Linked DNA regions of Homo sapiens: region 1 is linked to region 2. Evidence: promoter capture Hi-C in human tissues and cell types (Jung and others, 2019). All regions are on one chromosome and are shown on one strand. Each heading gives the region's core, a stretch centred on a gene start or on the middle of the fragment in contact. The rest is flanking DNA. Distances are from core to core; before and after follow the strand shown.

Region 1 (4,488 bases), core at 1-2,500, 760 kb before region 2:
GAAGCCAAGCTGATGGCATCTCTCTGGCACTTGGCAGCGATGGCCTTCATTACTTACGTGCTCCTGGCTGGGATGGCACTGGGCATTCAGAAAAGGTCAGTGCCAAGCCCCTCCCTTACCCTCCCCTCCCTGTGAGCTCTTCTCCCAACCTCCCTAGGGCATATGTGGTGGTCCCCAGCTCACCCTCTGTTGCCCCAGTCTCTCTTCCTCACCCCTGCCTCAGGATGCCTGGCTCTGAGCCACCCCTGCTTTGGCGCAGGTTCTCCCCGGAGGTGCTGGGCCTGTGTGCAAGCACAGCGCTGGTGTGGGTGGTGATGGAGGTGCTGGCCCTGCTCCTGGGCCTCTACCTGGCCACCGTGCGCAGTGACCTGAGCACCTTTCACCTGCTGGCCTACAGTGGCTACAAATACGTGGGGTGAGCACTTGTGGGCCAGGGGGAGGTGGCCTTGGATCTGGGCCTGCATAGCTGTAGCCTCGAACTGTGACCCTGGACATGTCTCGGCCCCTAGTGACCTCTAGCACTGCTCTGTTAAGAGGGAGCAGCTGTCTCCAGCAGTCTCCTGAGGATCTGCGTGCCATGCAGAGGTTGGGGAGGTGTTGAGAGTCACTCTGCGAGTCTTGGGGAGAGAAGGGGGTCTCAGATCCAGGTCCTGGGGCTGAGTCCTGGGCCTTCCATATCCCTTTGGGGTCTGGGTCCCTGTGGGGACAGATTGAGAGTAAAAGGTGCTGTGGGAGGTGGGGTCTAGCTGGGCTCTGGGCGTTGGGGGTAGGGCCAATCTCAGGCCTAGACCCCTGGGGGTCACCAACCCTTTCCTCCTCCCACCCCCAGAATGATCCTCAGTGTGCTCACGGGGCTGCTGTTCGGCAGCGATGGCTACTACGTGGCGCTGGCCTGGACCTCATCGGCGCTCATGTACTTCATTGTGAGTCTGGTGCACCCCCCCATTCCCCTGCCTTCACTTGAGGGCAAACCTCCCCCTCCTGGCCAGGCTTCAGTTCTCCTTTCTTCCAGGTGCGCTCTTTGCGGACAGCAGCCCTGGGCCCCGACAGCATGGGGGGCCCCGTCCCCCGGCAGCGTCTCCAGCTCTACCTGACTCTGGGAGCTGCAGCCTTCCAGCCCCTCATCATATACTGGCTGACTTTCCACCTGGTCCGGTGACCCCCTGGCCCCAGATGGCACTGAGTTTTTCATTCATTGAAGATTTGATTTCCTTGACTTTGTCTGACCCTTGTTCCTGGGGCCTGATGGGGAGCTACAGATACCTCTGCGCCTCTGCATTGCCCAGGGGATCGGGCTTGGGGCCGTCTAGGAAGAAGGTGGACCCAGGGAGGGCTTCATGACTTTGGTGACCTTGATACTGCCTTGTAAGGGTTTCAGCAGCCTCAGCTGGGAAAGAGAAGATGGAAGGAGGCTGCTGAGGGGACCTGGAAGGCGTCTGATCCCTCTGGGGGGCTCCAGCAGGGTCTGTGGGCTAGTGGGGTGAGACAAGCCAGGCTGGGGATTCAGCTTAGGGCTGCCCCCTATACAGTCCCTGTAATCGGCCCCCATCTCCTCTTCAAGCTTTCCAGGAGCAGAACCGGGGCCCACATATTTGCAGTAGTTTATTCATATTTTGTCACAAATGGCCGGGGAGGGGGTGCCGGACTCCTCCAGGCGACATAGAAAATAGGTCCAAGAGACAAGGTGGGCTGAGGTTGGGGCAGATGGAGACAGGGCTGGAGAAAGAGCCTGGGGGAGAGGGGAGGGCAGACTAGGGGTGGGGCTGCCCCCCTGCTGAGCCTGCTCATTCCCGGTGCGGGTACCCCCCCACCTGCAGGGGGAGCCTCAGGGTGGGGGTGGAGGGGGATGGCCCAGAATTTCCAGGGTCAAGCTCTGCCCCTTGGCAGGGCCCAAGTTTCCCCCGAAATGGACAAGGCCGGAGGTCCTGCCCCTTCCAGGAATGACTGCCATGCCCACAGGCTGGCAGAGGAGCCCCTGCCCCTGTTTAGAGCTCTGCCCAGCCGCTCTAGTCCAAGGGGGAGGGCTCTGAAGGCGGGGTGGGGGGGGTTCCCCGCAGCAGCAGTTTGGGGGTTGGAGAGGCTGGGGGCACCAGTGCCCCCTCCCTCCCCAGGGCTGAGGCCTCTGCGGCCAAGGGGCAGGGCTGGGGGTGCACAGGCGTCCGGTCCGTTCTGGGCTCGCTCCCTGGCCGGCTTCCCCCTTAGAAACTCACCAACGTATAAACCATACTGTAGGAAGATGAGCCAGTGAGCCTAGCCCTGCACACACACAGCCACCCAGATGCCCACCTGGTCACACCCTGGGCTGCCCTCAGTCCTCAGGGGCAAAAGGCAGGAACTTGGGATTGGAAGCGTGATGCTGGGACATCCCTTCCCTGAGTTCTGACTGCTGTGGGCAAGGCCTCACCTGTACAGGTAATAGAAGAAGGAGAGCAGGTAGAAGGCAAGTTTGCACCAGGACTCCTTCTGGCAGTAGTTGAGAATGTCAGCATTCATGATGGAGACCGCATCATACATGACCTCAGAGCCATCTGCAGGACGGTGGAAGTACCTGGGGCAGACAGGGGCCTGAGTGTCTGCCATCAGGACTCCCACCCCCATCCTGCCCCTGTTCCCCATCTCAGCCTCCCCAAGGCAGCTGCTACCCTCACCTCCAGAGGTGGTAGAAGAGGAGGGGGATGTTGAGGCCCAGGGTCACCCACTCTGCTGCACACAGAAACATCAGACAGAAGAGGCCGTGGATGGAGTATTCTGGGACCACCAGCTGGGGGAGTGAGGGTGAGAGGTCAGCGGCCTGGTGCTATGACAGACCAGCCTTCAAGGGGACAGAGAGGAGCTGGGGTTTGGGAGGTGCCCACCCACCGTGACCTCTGGGGATTAAAAGGCCTCTGGCTTCCCACTCCCTCCCAAGTAGAGTGGATCAAACAGGCCCAAAGCAGGGGAAGGCCTGGTTCTGGGCCACAGACAGTGGGGGCAGCGCTGGGCTAGGAGCCTCCTGCCCCCAGCCCTGACACTGACCTTCCTCAGGAGGCAGCAGATGCGTTCGATGTTTTTTAAACGCTCGCGCTGTTGGGGGAAGGAAAAGGCCGCGATGGGGTGGCGGAGAAGCAGGTACTGGAGCAGCTCCCACCGCTCCACATGTGGCCGCCAGGGGGCGCCAGAGCGATCTCTGCGGCACTGTCGGCACGGCCGGGAAGCAGCCGCGCCGTCCCCATGGCGACCGTCACCATGGAAGGGCCTTCACCCGCGTCTCCATGGCAACGGCCCAGAGCCTGGCAACCACCGCCCCGCCAAGAGGAACTCAGCCCTGAGCCCGCGCCAGGTGTTTGCTGGGGGCGGAGACAGAGAGGAAGGGGGCATGGCCGTAGGCCCCCCACCCCACCCCCGTCTTCCCGTCTCCCACCCCCAGCCCACGACAGATGGAAAGACAGACGGACGGACACACCTCGGCACAGCACATGTATCACTTACTGCCCGCGCAGGGTTCCCCTGGTCGATGGGGTTCTTGAAGTCGGTCCGCAGCTCATCAAAGGCTATGATCTGGGGGAGGGGCGTGTGCCCGTCAGGGTTGGGGCAGCAGCTTATGGCCTTCCCCCAAGTCCTTCTGTGGGATAGTTTACTGAAGAGGACCAGCCAGGTGGAGCTTGTTGCAAAGGTGGAGAAACCGAGGTCCAGGGAGGAGCAGGGCCTGGTCCAAGGTCATTACAACAGTCCAGAAGGGAACCCTAGCGTCTGGATGCCCAGTTCAGGCCCATGTCCACTACACCCCCTTCCAAAACATCCCAAGACATGGCTTCGTGTCTGCCCTGCCAAGTCTCAGGCCCTGTGCTGAGCACTGGGGCTCCAGAGGCCTGGGATGCAGCCCCTGCCCAGGAGGAACCCAGGCCCAGAGGGATGATCACTCTGCCTTCCAGGTGATCAGGGTTTGGGGTACAGGGAGGACCTGGAGTGGGCGCTTAACCCTGTGTGGGGGGTGAGGGAGTTCAGGCTGGACTCGGAGTAGGTGTTGGTGAGCAAATGGGGGAAATGCAGTCCAAGCAGTAGAAGGTGCAATGGCAGAGGGGTGAAAGGTCAGGAGACATTCAGGAGGCTGCGGGTTTCATGGGGCTGGCGTGACAGCGCAGCGAGCAGGAAGAAAAGAGAGAGTGGTGGAAGAGGAGCTGGAGAATTCAGCAGAGCCAGACATGGGCGCCCTGTGAGGCCAGAGCAGGAGTTTGGACTTACTTTAACACAAAAATTTTGGGGGGAGGCATTGAAGAGTACACAGCAGCAGAGTGGGGTGGTCAGGTCCATGTCTTAGGATTGGTCCATGTCTCAGGATTGGTGGGGCAGGAAATCCGAGCTCACTGACAGTCACAGCTGAGATCTAAGTGGTGCTTCTCCTGGCCGGTATGTGGATTCACTCATTTAATTCTTAACAACCTTATGACTTAGGTACTAGTTTTATTTTCATGTCTGTTTTGCAGATGAGGAAGCTGAGGCAGGTTAAGT
Region 2 (4,455 bases), core at 1-2,500:
CTGCCACTGCTGTCAGCCAACTCCGGGGGGTCATACTGCTCAAGCTCGGGGATCCCCTTGCGGGGAGGTCCCCCACCGTTGCCCTGGGCCGAATACATGTAGTCCAGGCCCCCAAGCTTCCACTCGCCAGCTCGGTCCACGAACACGGCGGCCATGCAGACATTGTTGTGGATGAGGCTGCAGTCGTTGACCAGGAAGCTGAGGGCTTTCTGGGGGCAAAAGGAGCCATCACGCCCCAGCACCTGCAACCCCCCATCCCTGCTCTCATCACCACTGCCCCCCACCTCACCACGATCTGGTGTAGCCCCCAGGAGATCTCCAGCTCCTTCAGGCCACCAGCCTCCACTCTCGCCTTGAGGTATATTCCCAACGGGGTCACAGCCTCTGTCACGACGTGGAGGCATTTTTCTGTCTGGGGAAGGGGACACAGGGTTATCAAGGGCGGAGGGGCAGAGAGGAAGGAGAGATAAGCGACTTGAAGTTGGGAGAGATGGGGAAGAGGAAACCAAATCTGGGGGTGCTGGGGCACATAGGGTGGAAACAGGGCAGGAGGGGAGACAGGAGTGGGTAACCAGGACATCGTGAGGGGCAGAGACGGGCAGGCAAGGCAGCAGGTACCTCCAGTCCATCGATGTAAGCCAGGATGTTGGGGTGCCGTAGAGTTTTGAAGCGCTTGAAGGCAGCTTTGGCCACCTGGGTCTGCTCTTCCGCGCCAGGCTTCACATCATAGACGAAGATGGACACGGGGCTGCCTGTGGCCTAGGGGAGGGCAGCGGGGCCTGAGATGGTCCCAGAGCTGTTGTGTGGCCGGAAGACAAGGGCCCGCAGCCAGGTCTCTCCCCAGGTCAGCCTTAGGGACACTTCGCCGGGCCCACGTGACCCCGGCCCTGTCCGCCTGTCGGTCCCTCGGTCCCTCCGCCCGCCACGTAGGCACTGCCCGCCCCCTCCCCGGCCTGCTACCCCTTGGTTCCGCCGCCACGTCAGGCCGGGCGCAACGCGACGGGGTCGGCGGCGCGGAATAGGCAAGGCCCAGGTCGACCGCGGCCTACGGAGCTCGGCCGCACTCACCTTCTTGCGGCCGCGGTGCAGGGCCCAGGGCCCGGGCAGGCCGCCCTCTGGGGGCTCCGGGATGAGCTCGAACGGAAAGTCCCGGACCGGGTCCCGGGCAAAGAACCACATCGTCCCCACCGCCGCCGCGGGTTCGGGCGCCTTAGCTCCGGGTCCTCCGGCCGCCCGAGCCGGGGCGGGGCGGAGAGGGGGCGGGGCCTGCGTCAGACGGGGGCGGGGCCCGGGGGCCAGGGCGGGGCCTACGTCGGGGCGGAGCAGGACGTGAATTGGGGCGGGGTGGGGCAGAACCTGAGTTGGGGCGGGAAGGGGCGGGGACAAGGGAGGGGCGGGAGAGGGGCGGGGATGGGGGGGCTAGGGAGGGGCGGGGATGGGGGGGCTAGGGAGGGGCGGGGATGGGGGGGCTAGGGAGGGGCGGGGCAGTCCGGGGCGGCGGGCGGTACTAAGATCAGTACTCCGCCGCCGGGTAAGTCACTTAAAACCCTCCAAGCCTGTGAGCCCTTTTATCTAAAGAGGCCTAAATCCTAAAGGATAATAGAGCCTGCCTTCTAGCGTACTGTAAGGATGAGAGCTTAAGAAGGGACAGAGGGATGGGGAAACCGAGGCAAAAAGGGGGAGAGGTAGAAAGACTGACAGGCATGAGAGGGTGCAGTGAGGAGTGAGGCAGAGACCCAGAGAGGGAGACTGGCCCCACGCCAGACACTCTCTCCCACCAGCAAGTGGGTGCCTCCAGGCTCCGGGGAGGAGTCGGTCCTGGTGAAGTGACCATGAGAGAAGCACGAGGAGACGCCCCAGAGAAAGAGCGTGGGTGAGAGGCAGAGAGTGAATCCAAGGTTCCAAGGAGGTCCAGAACCCCGGGGCAGGGGCGGGCACCCAGGGAATGGAGGAAGGAGAGACTGAGGAGGGAAGAAGAAGTGACCCCAGGAAAGGAGGGAGGGAGAAGGAGCAACTGGGCAGGTCTGGAAGAGGCCAAAGGGCTGGGAGGGGACCCTGCTCTCCTGGGCTCAGCTGCCCGGCTCTCAAGCCAACGGATTGCATCTCTCAGTGCCTGTGTAGACAGCCATGGAGTGGTGTTAGCTCAATCAGCACATCACACTGGTGGGGATCCAGCCCCTGAGCTGTGTAGGAGGGGCTGGACAGGCAGTGGTTCTTCTGCTGGTAGGGTCTCAGGACCCAGGCTTGGGGACAGTGCCTCAACCACAGCTATGGAGCACTGGTGAGATTCTGGGACTGGTTATGAAAAGTCTGGTTGGGATGCCTTTGGGAGATAACTCAAGGGCAGAGATGCCACAGTGAGACGGTGCTGGGTTTCAATCACGGTTCAGCCCCTCATTGGATGTGAGAACTCACACAGTTCCCTTTGGGTGCGTTAGGTCCCCCATCTATAAACTGGGGTGAGGGCCAGGCACAGTGGTTCACGCTTGTAATCTCAGCACTTTGGGAGGCCGAGGCTGGAGGATCACCTGAGGTCAGGAGTTCCAGGTCAGCCTGACCAACATGTTTGAAGGGGGCCTGCCCCTCCACACCTGTGGGTATTTCTCGTCAGGTGGAGACAAGAGACTGAGAAAAGAAATAAGACACAAAGTATAGAGAAAGAACAGTGGGCCCAGGGGACCGGCACACTCAGTATACGAGGACCTGCACCGGCGCTGGTCTCTCAGTTCCCTCAGTATTTACTGATTACTATTTTCACTATCTCTGCAAGGGGACTGCGGCAGAACAGGGTGATGGTGGGAAGAAGGTCAGCAGGAAAACATGTGAGTAAAGGAATCTGCATCATAAATAAGTTCAAGGGAAGGTACTGTGCCCGGATGTGCACGTAGGCTGGATTTATGTTTCTCTTTACCCAAACATCTCAGTGTAGCAAAGAGTAACAGAGCAGTATCACCGCTAGCATATCTCACCTCCAGCCATAGGGCAGTTTTCTCCTATCTCAGAATAGAATGACTGGTGGGCTTTACACCAAGACATTCCATTCCCAGGGACATACGGGAAACAGAGGCCTTCCTCTTATCTCAACCGCAAAGAGATCTTCCTCTTTTACTAATTCTCAGCACAGACCCTTTACGGGTGTCGGGCTGGGGGATGGTAAGGTCTTTCCCTTCCCACAAGGCCATATCAGGCTGTCTCAGTCGGGGAGACAATACCCAGGCTTTCTCGGGCAGAGGTCCCTGTGGCTTTGCACAGTGCATCATGTCCCTGGTTAATAGAGAATGGAGAATGGCGATGACTTTTACCAAGCATACTGCTTGCAAACATATAGTTAACAAGGCACATCCTGCACAGCCCTAAATCCCTTAAACCTTGATTCAATACAGCGCATGTTTCTGTGAGCACAGGGTTGGAACTAAAGTTACAGATTAACAGCATCTCAAAGCAGAAGAATTTTTCTTAGTACAGATCAAAACGGAGTTTCTTATGTCTTCTTTTTTTCTGCATAGACACAGTAACAGTCTGATCTCGCTTCCTTTCCCCCACATATGTGTGGGCGGAGGAATACCTAGGTGCGGAGGCAAGAGATTGAAGGCACAAACTGTTTCAGTATAAAAAAGAAAATAGTTAGAATAAGAATAGTCATAATACAAATTAGATATAGAGATGGTCATGAACAATTATCAATCATTGTTATAAGCATTATTAATCATTAGCTTTTAATATTACTCTTTGTTGCATTACTAATATAACCTAGGAATAACCGGCGGGTATAGGGTCAGGTGCTGAAGGGACATTGTGAGAAGTGACCTAGAAGGCAAGAGGTGAGCCTTCTGTCACGCCCGCATAAGGGCCTCTTGAGGGCTCTTTGGTCAAGCGGTAACGCCAGTGTCTGGGAAGGCACCCGTTACTTAGCAGACCGCGAAAGGGAGTCTCCTTTCCTTGGAGGAGTCAGGGGACACTCTGCTCCACCAGCTTCTTGTGGAAGGCTGGATATTATCCAGGCCTGCCCGCAGTCATCCAGAAGCCTAAACCCCTCCCTGTGGTGCTGTGCTTCAATGCTCACGCTCTTTGTCCACTTTCATGCTCCTCCCATACTCCTGGTTCGTCTTTGAAATTCGTAGTAGATAGAGGTAGAAGAAATAGTGAAAGTCTTAAAGTCTTTGATCTTTCTTATAAGAGCAGAGAAGAAAACGCTGACGTATGCTGCCTTCTCTCTCTGCTTCGGCTACCTAAAAGGGAAGGGCCCCCTATCCTGTAATCACCTGACCTGCTTCACCTTGTCAATCACTTAGAAGATTCACCCTCCTTACCCTGCCCCCTTGTCTTGTATACAATAAATATCAGCGAGCCCAGCCATTTGGGGCCACTACCGGTCTCCGCGTCTTGATGGTAGTGGTCCCTGGGGCCCAGCTGTTTTCTCTTTATCTCTTTGTCTTGTGTCTTTATTTATTACAA

What was found. Contacts are between HindIII fragments. The study calls those that stand out against the background at their distance.
Region 1: a contact is called between a fragment that was not itself captured here and the fragment with the promoter of SCYL1 in region 2, in 2 of the 25 tissues and cell types used here (dorsolateral prefrontal cortex and spleen).

Annotation. Positions count from the first base shown.
Region 1 is chr11:66,281,308-66,285,795 of GRCh38, reverse strand. It overlaps CNIH2 (cornichon family AMPA receptor auxiliary protein 2), which reads right to left. Exons shown (of 6, transcript NM_182553.3): 2 at 3,469-3,537; 3 at 3,016-3,063; 4 at 2,649-2,761; 5 at 2,405-2,548; 6 at 1,590-2,226. The coding sequence ends at 2,199. YIF1A (Yip1 interacting factor homolog A, membrane trafficking protein) reads left to right here. Exons shown (of 8, transcript NM_020470.3): 5 at 38-95; 6 at 260-415; 7 at 830-923; 8 at 1,013-1,216. The coding sequence ends at 1,159. Among named protein-coding and RNA genes, the nearest start is that of CNIH2, 5.4 kb to the right of the region's middle. RefSeq lists an enhancer at 2,847-3,350. The HindIII fragment of the contact is 4,602 bases long and covers 1-3,551 here.
Region 2 is chr11:65,521,878-65,526,332 of GRCh38, reverse strand. SCYL1 (SCY1 like pseudokinase 1) reads right to left here and starts at 1,250. Exons shown (of 18, transcript NM_020680.4): 1 at 1,069-1,250; 2 at 619-759; 3 at 290-412; 4 at 1-209. The coding sequence starts at 1,179. RefSeq lists a silencer at 903-1,402. The HindIII fragment of the contact is 17,278 bases long and covers 1-4,455 here.